Linked DNA regions of Homo sapiens: region 2 is linked to region 1. The links are contacts of gene promoters, found by promoter capture Hi-C in blood cells and fetal thymus (Javierre and others, 2016). All regions are on one chromosome and are shown on one strand. Each heading gives the region's core, a stretch centred on a gene start or on the middle of the fragment in contact. The rest is flanking DNA. Distances are from core to core; before and after follow the strand shown.

Region 1 (6,411 bases), core at 462-2,961:
AGCAAATATTATTGCCTACAGGTTGCCTCTTTCAGTGTCACCTGCTACCTCCCCAAGACAAGGAAAGTAAACAAAAGGAATTTCAGTAACGAATTTCCCAGGTTCCACATTCCCTAAAACACGTAAGTTGAAGGGAGGGCTTAAACAACTTCCACCTAATTAAAAATCTTCCCTTTTAATAATGCTTTGTTTTCACTGCTCCTATCCTTTCGGAGTTACATATGCTGGTAAGCAAGGAGGAGGGCCAAAAGGGATATTCAAGAGGCTGAACAGATACTATCTTAACTTCTTCCAAATCCATGAAGAACAAGCTGGGGGACACAATGGCATGCCTGGCCAGGCTGTCTGGACCTCATAGAGAGGCACTGGCGTCCCTTCCCAGTTAACAATATGCAAAGCACACTTCCTAACAATCTCCCGACGCTCCGTGATTGTTAGTTTATCAATTGAGCTTAAGTTCAACCAAACTTGGTAATACTCCTCGCAATTGACCTGGAGCCTAATTTCAAACGTAAAAATGCGTCCACTCCTCTAGCGCTGTAGGAAGCTGTGCTTACAAAGTTCGGACGTGGTACAATGATTTTTGTTTTATTACACCTGGTGGAGAAAAAAAAACATAACACCAAACTACGTTACCGAATTCCGAATTCACGGGAGAATGGGGATTTCGGCGACGACTTGAGGAGTACATGACCCAGGACAGAGGACGAAGTGAGCTGCCTCCGGGCCGCGGGCCCCTGTCCTTGGCCACGCCGTCACCTGAAAGGGGCCGCTGGTTCGCTTAGCATCCCTCCAAACCTGAAATCCCCTACCTCAAGATCAATCAAAAGCAGGGGGAAGAAAGTGTCTTCTGGAGGCGCAAGAAAGGCCACAACTTGGATGAATGAAACTGGGCTAAGGGCACCCGGAGCGGGATTTTCGCTGAAGTCAGAAAAAGAAAAGTCAAAAGATTTTTTTTTAACATGAGAGCGATTGCAAGAGACTGGAATACAGACAACGGCACAAACAAGCTTTGGAGGAACGCTTTATTGGGCGCGGACGTTCCGGGCGGCCGGCGGGCGCTAGAGCGGAGGCGGTCGGCGGCAGCCGGCGGGCGGCGGAGCGGGACGGACCAGGCGGCGGCGGCGGGGCCGGCGACGAGGCAGCTTCACGACTGGCGGGGACGGGCCGGAGTCGGGCTGGGCGCCCGCGCGTGTCCTCCCGCGGACCTTCCACTGGACTCCCGCGGGCCGGCGCCGGGATCGGGGTCGGGGCCCGCTCGGTCCGCCCCGCCCCCCGCCCGGCGGGCCGCTTGCGAGGCACACCCTCCCGGACCGCGCACACGCGCAGGCACACCCCCGCCTCCCGCGCGCACGCGGCCGGGCCCGGCCGGCCCACGCGCGCCCCCTTCCCGCGGACGCCCGCCGCCCGCCCGCCGCCCCGGCCTCCTCCGAGGAGTGCAGGAAGGCCCGGGGTCCCGCGGCCAGGGCGCGCGGGGGACGGCGGCCTAGCGGCAGCGGGGGCGCCCGCGCGGGAAGACCGGCTCTGAGGGAAGGTCACTTACCCGCTGCATGGCTTTCAGGATTAAAGCCAGCTCGTAGCGGGGCATGCCTGGAGGATCGGCGAGTGCGGCTCGGAAGCCAGCCGGTTCCCGGGACGCGAAGGGGCGGGACGGCGGGGACAGTGGGGACCTAGAAACTGCTGCGCCGGACGGCTCCCAGGCGGCGAAAGCACGGTCCGAGAGCGCGAGCCCGGGCTTAAAGGCGCTGGCAGCTGCGCAGACGCCGCGCCACGCCCCCTCGGCGCGCCCCGCCCCGCCCGCGCGCCTTGCCGCCGCCCCGCCCCCTCTCCGCCCGCGGGCGGCCGCCACGCCCCCTCCGCAGCCCCGCACCCGCCGCACCGCCCCCGCCCCGACCCCAGCCCAGCCCGCCGGCCGCGGCTAGGGGCGGTGCTGCAGACGCGGCCCAGAGCGGCTCGCGGCGGCCGCACGCCCCCTCGCGACCCTGCCTGCCCCTACCCCGCCTCCTGCCATGCCTGCTACCTAGCTCTCGAACCGGCTGGAACTTTCCATGCCTTCCTTCTCCTCCCGGGCGGCGGGCGAGTGAGTGCCCGCCAGTGCGCGTGCGCTGCGGTGCGGTCTCGTCCGTGCGCGTGCCCCTCGCCCGCGACTCCCCGGAGCTAGGGACCTTCGCGGCGCAAGGCGGGGTCGCGGCCGGCCCGGGGGCTGTGCGGCCAACGGCTGCTCGCAGGGGTTCTGGAACATTCCCGCCCGGGGTCGGTAGGGGGGTGCAGCTCTCGCCCCCAGCCACAACTCTCAGGTCTGACGCGGCTGACCAGGCCCCCTACCCGGCGAGGAGCGCGCTGGCACAGGCCGTGGGCCGCGGCGCGCGGGCTCGGGTCTGACTCAGTCCCTTGGCACTGCGTGACCTTGGGCCTGCTGCCTGTGCCGAAAGTGGGGACCCGAGTGAGTTACTGCACGTTAACCTCCGAGGACGGTGCCTGGTACACACAGGCGCGATACGGGCATTTGTGGTGTGCCCCTGACCTGCCCCCACGTGTTTCAGCGGAGGGCAGGCGAACACCTTAACTCTATCTCATTTCTTTAAATGTTTCCTCCGCTTTCACTTAAAGGCTAGGCTGAGTGCCTGGGAGACCCTTTAGCAACTGTCTAAGGTGGGCAGGGGCATACGTTCTGCCCTTGCCATCCCTTTACACCCACATGGTTCTCCGCCCTCCAGCCAGGGGCTCTGCAAGTGCAGTTTTCTCCAGCGCCCTTCCTTAGAGGTTGAGTACCCTGCAGCTGAGGCCTCTGCCCCTTGTTTGCCCCATTAAAAGCTCTGTACGTGGAGTGTTTGTCAACTTAAAGTGCTTTAACGTTAATAGGTAAAGTTTAGTGAACACTTACTCTGCATCAGGCCCCATGCCAAGGCTGGTGGATGTGTCTCCTAAAATTCTCACAACAGCCCTGAGGTGACAAAGATTCTTTGCTTGGCCAAACTTTAGTCAGGCTTCTGAATCTCATGCTAGGCCCATCTGTGCACTTCCTTGTAAAATCCAGTTCTAGCACAGAACCCCCATCCCCTCATAGCAGATCAGGTTCCTCATCTTCCTCTATCCCCCAGTCATGTCTTTTCACCCTGGCCTGAGTTCTACAAGAATCCTTTAGATCGGTTGAGCCAGAATCCCTCTTCCCCCGATGGTTACTCTTAGTGATTTTACATGGCCATAAATTTCTACTTGCCGACGCTGCATTCAGAATTGGAGCCCACTCTCTCTCCCCGGGTTTCCCTGATCCCTGTACCCATCGCGTTGGTCCTGAATAAAGTCTTTCTTACCATGCTTTAGTAAGCATCACTGAGTAATTTTTTTAAACAGAGGCAAGCACTGTTAACCCCATATTAGGGATTAGGAAATGTAGGCACAAAAAGTTTTGTAACTAGTCCAAGGTCATACAGTAATAGAAACAAAGTACTTTTAGCCGCCCCTCTACCCTTCTGACCTCCGGTTCTCCTACCACACAGATGAAGATGCTGATTGTTATTCAGTGGATTAACCGTGTAGTCCACGTAAGCCAAGATTAGAGTACCTTTGTCACCTTACCCAGAGGTTACCATTTCACATCCCATGCGTCTATTTGTGACATATGGGAGGTAGGAGATGGAGATGAACCCAAGTTTTTCTGAGATAGCTGGATTTTAACATTTTCTATTTTTAGACTTGTCTACAACCCATACCTGTGTGAAGCCACACAGGTAATCCAAATTGCCTGGCTAAGTGTCAATTAACTTCATGTTTGGTTTAAATAAGTAGCGTACTATAAATAACAGAAGGAAACAAGGAATTTCTGGACCTTCAGAAGTGAGTTACAGGCTGGGTGCAGTGGCCCACGCCCGTAATCCCAATACTTTGGGAGGCTGAGGCGGGTGGATCACCTAAGGTCAGGAGTTTGAGACCAGCCTGGGCAACATCGTGAAATCCTGTCTCTAATAAAAATACAAAAATCAGCTGGGTGCGGTGGCACTTGCCTGTAGTCCCGGCTACTCGGGAGGCTGAGGCAGAAGAATCGCTTGAACCCAGGAGGCGGAGGTTGCAGTGAGCCGAAATCGCGCCACTGCACTCCAGCCTGGACGACAGAGCGAGACTCCATTAAAAAAAAAAAAGTCAGTTACAGATTTTCTAGAATGGTCCCACCCCGACTGTCCCCTGTCTTGTCAATTACATGACCCAGTTTAGTAATGAGAAAATAAAGACCCCGTAGTAATATGCCAAGTCAAACACTGAGGCGGCGCAATGAGCTGACTTCAACTCAGAGCATTTCCTCTTGGAAGCTCTTTAGTTTTCCCTTAATGCCCAGGGATGAGTGAAGACCTGGCATCTTCTCTACTCCTTCTAACTTGACAAGTGGTATAAGGAAATTAACCTGACTGCGTAATACCTCACCACAGAGTCAGCATCCCCAAGCCCTCCCAGTCTGGTAGCCACCCACAGACTCATTCCATTTCTTAAAAGCAGAGAGAGGGCAGCTACTGTGATTTTCCCCCTTCAACCTTTTTTTAACAAGCACAGAAGCGGCCGGGTACGGTGGCTCACGCCTATGATCCCAGCACTTTGGGAGGCCAAGGCGGGCGGATCACCTGAGGTCGGGAGTTTGAGACCAGCCTGACCAACATGGAGAAACCCCGTCTTTACTAAAAATACAAAATTAGCCGGGCATGATGGCACGTGCCTGTAATCCCAGCTACTTGGGAGGCTGAGACAGGAGAATCGCTTGAACCTGGGAGGCAGAGGTTGCAGTGAGCCAAGATCGTGCCATTGCACTGCAGCCTGGGTAACAAGAGCAAAACTACATCTCAAAAAACTAAATAAAAAATAAAAAAGCACAGAAGCAGAATGCTTGTGGCTTCATTTAAAAAAAAAAAGATTTTTTTTAAATCACGAGGAATGCTGTTGCAAATTTAGTGTCTTCCTACTATAACTACAAACTTAAATTCACCAAAACAATTTTTAACTTTATACTATGTATAGTCAGCATAATAGAAATATATTACTGCAGCATTTGATATATTAATTTAAAAATGACTCTCTTAGATTCTCCAAAACATTTATTATGGTATGTGTTTAAGATTTGATTAACCAGAAGTTTGATTAATTTTCAAGTAAGTTTTTTTGAGGGGGAATAGGAAAGAAGAATAAGAACAGAAGTTGAAATCCAGCCCTATTTGTAAAAAAGGAACCTCAAGATATGCCCTGGGTCAGTTTAATCACCTTTACCTTCTTCTTTTATGTTGCTGTATAATGAGACTTGACCTTGAGCTTTCAATCGTTAATCCTCAAAGATGGCCATTATTTTTATTACTGAGTCTAACATTTTGAGCATTAACTATGAACCAGAACCTATTTTAAATTATTTGCATGTATTAACTCTCAGTTCTTACCACAAAGATATGTATTATAACTGCCCCCATTTTACATATAGGGAAAAGGAGACTTCATAAACATCTCAGCAACTTGCCCCAAATTATGCAGAACTCAGAGCCTGCACGCTTAACCCCAATACCATACAGCATTATGTTTACCAGCCAGCGCAAACTGAGCAACTATCTGTCGATCAACCAACTTTTATTGTAGTCCTACTCTGTCCTCTTCCCTGGGTGATGGCAGTCTCCCACTCCTTGCACCCATATAATGCCCTCCCTTAAGTGGCCAAATTCTCCCCTTGCACAGACTTCTTCCTGCTGCCATGAAGCATATATAGGTCTCTTCTAGCTAGGGGGAAGAAAAACCTCGTCATAACCCTGTTACCCTCTCAAGTTGTCATTCTTTTCTTCTTCTCACAGCCACATATCCCCAGACCCACTGCATCTTCCAGCCTTTGCACTCTGTGTTCCCTCACACTGTCACCACTGGCCTTCCATTTGTCCACCAAGTAGTTTCCCTGGCATCATCGTCAGGGACCTCTCTGCAGTCCTGAGGGTCTCTTCTTGGCCATCCATGATCCTGTACTCTTGGGGTTTTCCTTTGTCTCCTTGGTCCCTGTGTCTGGCTCCTTTTTCCCCTTCTGTCCCTGAATGCGCTGTTCTGCAAAGCAAGGAGGTGTCTCAGCAGCAAGGATTTAAGGCAAGACTTGCCCATAACATGAGTTCCCATGATCCAAGTGCATTGGAGTTTGGCTCTAAACAGCCTTAAACTGATCTTTCCTGCCAGAATCCCGGTTTACCCTAACAGTACAGGTGGGCAGTGGAAAGTGAATAAATGAGTGATCTCCTTGTCTGTAGATAAGGAATCTGATACAAAAACAAGGTACATTATTTATCCAAAGCCATAGAGCCCTGGGGTGGCACAATTCAAAGAAAAAACTTTTGCTTGCCATATTCTTCTTAGGCATGCACTGCGTGCCATGATGCCATGATGGCAGTTTTACTGTTGCTAATG
Region 2 (6,480 bases), core at 3,918-6,417, 270 kb before region 1:
ATTCTTAGTATTTAGGCTGGGTGTGGTGGCTGACACCTGTAATCCCAGCACTTTGGGAGGCTGAAGTGGACAGATTGCCTGAGCTCAGAGTTCAAGACCAGCCTGGCCAATATGGTGAAACCCTGTCTCTACTAAAAATACAAAAATTAGCCAGGTATGGTGGTGCACACCTGTAGTCCCAGCTACTGGGGAGGCTGGGGCAGGAGAATCACTTGAACCCAAAAGGCAGAGGTTGCAATGAGCCGAGATGGTGCCACTGCACTCCAACCTGGGCAACAAAGCGAGACTGCGTCTCAAAAACAAAACAAAACAAATTATTAGCATTTTTCACTACCTTCCCTGTTTGCCCAGTCTCAGAAAGAACTGTCTCCTCTTCATAACATCTCTGGAAACTTGTCAAAGGTTGGGCAAGAACTTAGGTCCTTGTTCGAGCCTCTGGGAAAGGTCTTGCCCAGGAAACTTGACCTTGTGCTCTGCTTCCGTTAGAGAGCCCAGGCTCCAGCAGCACTTTCAGATTCTCATGTGTCTCGACTGTTCAAGCAACCCTGCATTATCCACTCTCAGGAAATTACTGGTGGCAGCAAAGTTCAAGTGCAATCTGAACCTACAGCCCACAGCCAGCACTTTCAGGTTCACCCTGCCCATCAGTAACGTCAGCAGCCATTGCTACCAGCTCAGCTACTCCCATTTATTGAGCAACTCCTGAGTGCCAGGCAATGTGCAAGAAACCTTATTTATTTATTTATTTATTTATTTATTTATTTAAAGTAATAGCTTCTTGTAAAAAAAACTTATATTTTAGGTTTGGGGGTACACGTGCAGGGGTTGTTATATAGATAAACTTGTGTCATGGGGGTTTGTTGTAAAGATTATTTTGTCACCCAGGTACTAAGCCTAGTATCCAATAGTTGTCTTTCCTGCTCCCCTCCCTCCTCCCACCATCCACCCTCAAGTAGGCTCCCGTGTCTGTTGTTCCCCTCCTTGTGTCCATCGGTTCTCACCATTTAGCTTCCACTTATAAGTGAGAACACACGGTATCAGGTTTTTGGTCCCTGTGTTAGTTTGCTAAGGATAATGGCCTCCAGCTCCATCCATGTTCCTGCAAAGGACTTGATCTTGTTCTTTTCTGTGGCTGCGTAGTATTTCATGGTGTAAGAAACTTTATATACCATGGCTCTGGTTTTATGCCAACCCTGCAAGGTAGTTACAAAGAACCTCATCTGACAGCTGAGAAAAAAAGGCTACAAAAACTCATACTCTGAATGAAAAGTTTTGGACAAGAGGACCCAGGTTCTTTTGCACAACTCACAATTCAAAAATGCATAAAATATTGCTTTTGGTGATAGAAATGGCCTTTGCTGCCTTTTTTTTTTTTTTTTTTTTTTTTTTTTTTTTTTTTTGAGACAGGGTCTCACTCTATCACCCAGGCTGGAGTGTAGTGTTGCAGTCAGGGCTCACTGCAGCCTTGACCTCCTGGGCTCAACAGATCCTCCCACCTCAGCCTGGCACGCGCCACCACGCCTAATTTTTGTATTTTTTGTAGAGATGGGATGTCGCCATGTTGTCCAGGCTGGTCTCCAACTCCTGGGCTCAAGCGATCCTCCTGCCTCGGCCTCCCAAAGTGCTAGGATTACAGGCGTGAGCCACCGCGCCTGGCCTTCTGCCACTGGCTAAGCTTAAAATGCGCGATGTGTTTCTCTCTTCCTGGGTTCTGTACCTGAAATTTGGGTAGCTGCCGCCAGGTGGCGCCAAATCTGAGCTTTATTAATCCAAGGGACCAGCTACACTTTGCCAGAGCCCTCAACTGATCTGACATCACGGTGCATGCTTCCAGACTAACTATGACATTTCTAGCACAGTAAGCTCTTTATTAAAATAGCAGACATCCTTGCTTCCTTGAAAATCATTAACTATTAACATCTGCACGTCTTTCTAAAAAGGATACACTTTACAGCAACCGGTAAAGAAATACAACATCTAGGTATAACATTAAACTTTTCTTACTAAACATTATTTTAAACCGCTGCTTATTCTAACTTCACCTGTTCTGAACACAGATGCTCTTGGGAAATGGATGTGTTCAGACCCTTACAGCATTTGGAGTGATTAAAAGCCATGCATTTCTTTGCAGTTATCTGTGCAGATGAAGTTAAAATGTATCAGTAGCTTTGTTTAATGCCAGGTTTGTTCGAGAATGTTTTAAGAATGTAAGCCCTTTTGTTTTGATTGTCAATGCCCATTTTCTCATAACTCATTAATTTCCCTCTATTTCTTTCTACATGGGTAGATTATTTTCTTTTTCTTCATTCTCCCATAAAAGGAGAAAAATAACTGCTCATATATGCTTCATGTCCCAGTGACCTCTCATGGTTATTTTTCCTAGTTTGGATAGTTCCTACACAGGAGTTTTCTTCCTCGTTCTCTTTTCTTTGAATTTTAAGTAGGGTGGCCAATTTGCACTAGTTTGCCTGAGAACTTTTCCATCCTGTGTCCTGAGTATCCCATTAGTCCCAGGCAAAGCAGGATGGCTTGTGACCCTAGCTTTCGGTTAGAGCAAAAGTTAGCCTACACTGAATTTAAGATGCAGATTCAACTTCAACCACTGTAACAGGCTTCATTGTCAGTCACAGACCTATTTTTCATTCATTCCTTCAGCAAATCCACTCTGCCATCCCAAATCCATCTCAGTGACTCTTAACAAGTCCATCTTTCATTGCAGGTTTTTTGTTTGTTTGTTTGTCTGATTTTTAAGGTGTAGTCTCGCTCTGTCTCCCAGGCTAGAGTGCAGTGGCGCGATCTCGGCTCACTGCAACCTCCACCTCCTGGATTCAAGTGATTCTCTGTCTCAGCCTCCCGAGTAGCTGGAATTACAGGTGTGAACCACGACGCCCGGCTAATTTTCATATTTTTAATAAAGATGGGGTTTCAGCATGTTAGCCAGGCTGATGGCGAACTCCTGGCCTCAAGTGATCTGCCGGCCTTGGCCTCTCAAAGTTCTGGGATTACACGTGTGAGCCACCATGCCCGGCCTCGCTGCAGTTTTTTGACACCAATGATTTGTGTTAAACATCTTCTCAGGCCCACAGTGCTGAACACAGAATCTAATCTCAATAGATGCTTCATTAATGGTTATTAAATGAAAGGAAAAAGTGGGCACCCCTCTTTTCCTTGGGGCTACTGCTGCCCTCACTCCAGAGCCTTAAAAGCCTCTGCTGCAAGCTCAAGACAGCTCCTGGGGGAAGTAGGAGACCAGTGGAATGTCATGATGTTATGTGGGATCTCAGCTCAGATAGGGACAGCAGTGTCCAAGAGTTTTTAAAATCTACCTCAAACTTCAAAATTCCTTGTTACCCTTCTGGGAATAAAATCTCCCCAAATTTGTTTTCCATGAGGTTTATATTTATATCTATAGAAGCTAGCATTTAGGAGGGATTCATAATTCAGAAGGGTCTTAATTTTGAATCAGACCTCAAAATTGAAGCCGAGGAGGTAGCGGTGACTAGGGTGGGGGGAGAGGAATTTGCCTGAGAGATTGTCCTCTATTCCCAAATAAGTTCTGTCTCTCTTTCCCAGCCAGACTCTCTATAAAAGGGAAAACTGGACAACAGGCAGTGGGAAAGAGAGCACAGCCTGGCAACTTTCTGTGAAACACGTACACCACGCTGTTTACAAATTCCTGTAGCCAGCCCCGGAATCCAAATGTAGACAACTCTGTTTATGTAACGAAAATAGACACTCCTGCCATGTGATTAAGGTGGCTACTGGGAGTTGGGCCCCTGTTAGGAGACATTTGCTGCAGCTGGGGCCGGAGGGGAGGACGGGACATGGGATCCCCCGGGACCTGGGGCAGGTACGAAGCTTTTTAAAGATGAGTTTTCTGGTCCGGAAATCTCCCAGGATAGGCACATCTAAGATGCAGCGGGGGAGCTGACAGAAGTCACAGGCTGGCCCTTTCTTTGCCGCCCATCCCAGAGGATGGCATTCTTCATCAAAGGGGAGATAGTCCAGCAAGCCGCAGCGTCACCCCTCCCAGCAGGGGACAATAAGTGGTCCGAGCCGGCCAGCTCCTTTCTCAGCATGGGGTTTGGAATGAGGCCCCTTCCTGCCCCACCGGAAGACTTCCAGCATATGGTTCCCATCAGCCACCCACTGTCTGGGTCAGTAAGGAGGCTTGAATGTTCCAGGGTCAGGAGATGCACAGCCCAATAAAACATTCCCTCCGAACGCTGATCCTGAACCCACCATTCCCTTCACACCTCTGCACCCCCAGTCTTGTGACTCAGATGGCCTTCATCCAAGAGCCTCATCTTGGAGATGCAGCTCAAATGGCGTTTCCTGTCCAAATGTTCTCCAACCCCTTCCCATCCAGAAGAAGCCATTATTCCCTCCCCTGGGCATTGTGGTCACCCGTCTCTAGGTCAGTCCACTCCACTCATAGTCACCTCCAACCCTGGAGTCAGGGCTTAGGTTTCATGATCTTTCCACCAGCCTTCGCCCTGGTATAGTATTCACCACAGGCAACCCCACTGTTACATGGCTTATCTTTCTGAGTCATTGGAAGGTGATGTCCAGGGGCCAAGTATTCGGTCCAGAAGACAAGAGCAGGAGCTGTGGTGCAGTGGTCAAAACTGGGGACGCTCAAGTTATCCCATCGATTCCCTGCATCCCGAAGAAGGAGGCCAACATTCTTATCCTGGCTTCTGAGGCCAGGCATGGCTGCCTGGCACCCGCCCTAGCTCATGCTACGCTGGGCTTCTCCTAGCTGTCTGCACTCCAGGCCTCTTGGATTTCTCAGTTATTAGAATGATCCCTGTGCCTTGGGGACTTCTACCCTGTCTCCTCTCCTAAGCCTGCCTTCCTGCCCCTTCATTTCTACTTCCTGCTGCATCTACTCACTGTTCAGGTGTCCACTTAAACCCCCCTCCTTAGGGACAACTTCCTGGATAGCATCTCCCCCTCAGTTAGATGAAGCCCCTCCTTTTACGTTTGCACCACATGCCAGGGACTGCTCTGTGTGACTTGTATGCAGAGGACAGGGACAGGGTCTAATCCGGGGAACCCAGCCTCGGCTCTCTGTGCCCCACTATCAGCACTCAACCATTTGCTACTTTCCTGCTTGACTCCTAGAGGACAAGAACTCCATCTTTTCCTCCAGTCTTCCCAGGGCCTAGGAGTGAAAGAACTAATAAATAAACCAATGACTCGACCGAAGAGGCCCTAGAAGAACCCAGCAGGGAGAGCCTTGAGCAACCAGCATTGATGTCACCTTGAGGCAAGACCAAGCTGGAACTCAAAGGTGGCCCACTACAAAAGGGGCTTCCAGGGAACAAAGGGTGACTGTTCTCTCCCCAAACCAGCGGGATCTTGCAAGGCAATTGGGTCAGAGGAGAAAAGGCCACAGAAAAACCCCACAGTTTTAAGCTGAGTGCTGTTTTCTCTTATTCCTTGGAAAAAGTAGAAGTGTTTGTCACTGAGTTCCTCAGGGGCATGCGGGGGGCTGCACATGTAGCAGAGGGAAGGAAACTTCCTGACAGAATCTTCGATCTTAGGCAGACTCAAGGAGAAAGAGGCCCCACTGAAGTCACACTTGGATGCCAAGCTCACGGTGCAAGGGAGGGCACTGTGGCTGCCAGGCCTAGCCCAGCACACACAGAGGGCATTCACAGCGCTGTGGCCACAGCCGGCTCCCACCCGCCCGCCCTGCGCACCCCCGGTAGCAAACAGAACGCTCTGTCTCGGTTCCTGAGTCAAGCCTGCACAGAATTAACTGCAATAATTGGCAGGTGGGCCTCTGGCTTCTGGGTTTTAATTCACCAGGGGCCCATGAAAAAGAAAAACTGGATGTTTTGCAGCAACGGTATTTAGCTTGGGATCCGAGAAGTTTCAGCTTTCCATGTCAAGAAACGAGCTGTGTGGCTGCAGCTGCCCTCAGCCAGCAAGAGCTCCAGAACAGCCTTGGAGAAAGAGGCCCCCTCCTGCCAGTCATTGGTTCCTTCCCAGGGAAAGAGGAGGAAATTGCCCTTTTCTTTGACCTGCTGCCCCTCTTGGGAGCACAAGATAACGGAGAAGAAAGGAAGGAGTCTTTCTGGAAGGATTTATTTTTCTGGATGGAAGGGGGTGATCATCACCTCCAGAGACTATCCAGGCATGATTCCCTTGTAATCATTCCCATGAACACATGTGATAACGGGGATGCTTATCCCAACCCTTAGCTGAGCCACCGTTTTAACACGAGCTGCTGCCGAGGCTGCAGGAGTTAGCCACGGCCACTGCTGCTCCTGCTGTGTGCCCACTGCAGGCATTACTAATCAACAATGGTTATCTTTTCCCCTAAGCCTTAGAATCCTTCTCAACCCTGTGGTCCAGGAAGGCATAGCAAATCGATAGAAGCTGGCATGAGAGCTGAACAGGATTGGCCACTTCAATTTAGTAACTCACAAGAGGCCCAAGTTATAATATATCATCAGAAAGCTTCTGGCT

Evidence for each region. The method cuts DNA at HindIII sites, captures the fragments that hold promoters and counts their contacts. A CHiCAGO score of 5 or more calls a contact.
Region 2: a contact is called between a fragment that was not itself captured here and the fragment with the promoter of MRPS6 in region 1, in 12 of 17 cell types (neutrophils, naive CD8 T cells, non-activated CD4 T cells and 9 more). The highest score is 12.5, in neutrophils.

The regions. Positions count from the first base shown.
Region 1 is chr21:34,068,878-34,075,288 of GRCh38, reverse strand. MRPS6 (mitochondrial ribosomal protein S6) reads right to left here and starts at 1,711. Exons shown (of 3, transcript NM_032476.4): 1 at 1,544-1,711. The coding sequence starts at 1,588. It overlaps SLC5A3 (solute carrier family 5 member 3), which reads right to left and starts at 1,711. Exons shown (of 2, transcript NM_006933.7): 1 at 1,544-1,711. RefSeq lists silencers at 1,054-1,453, 1,744-2,263 and an enhancer at 850-1,800. The HindIII fragment of the contact is 10,607 bases long and covers 1,013-6,411 here.
Region 2 is chr21:34,343,356-34,349,835 of GRCh38, reverse strand. No RefSeq gene overlaps it. Among named protein-coding and RNA genes, the nearest start is that of KCNE2, 17 kb to the left of the region's middle. The HindIII fragment of the contact is 2,613 bases long and covers 3,861-6,473 here.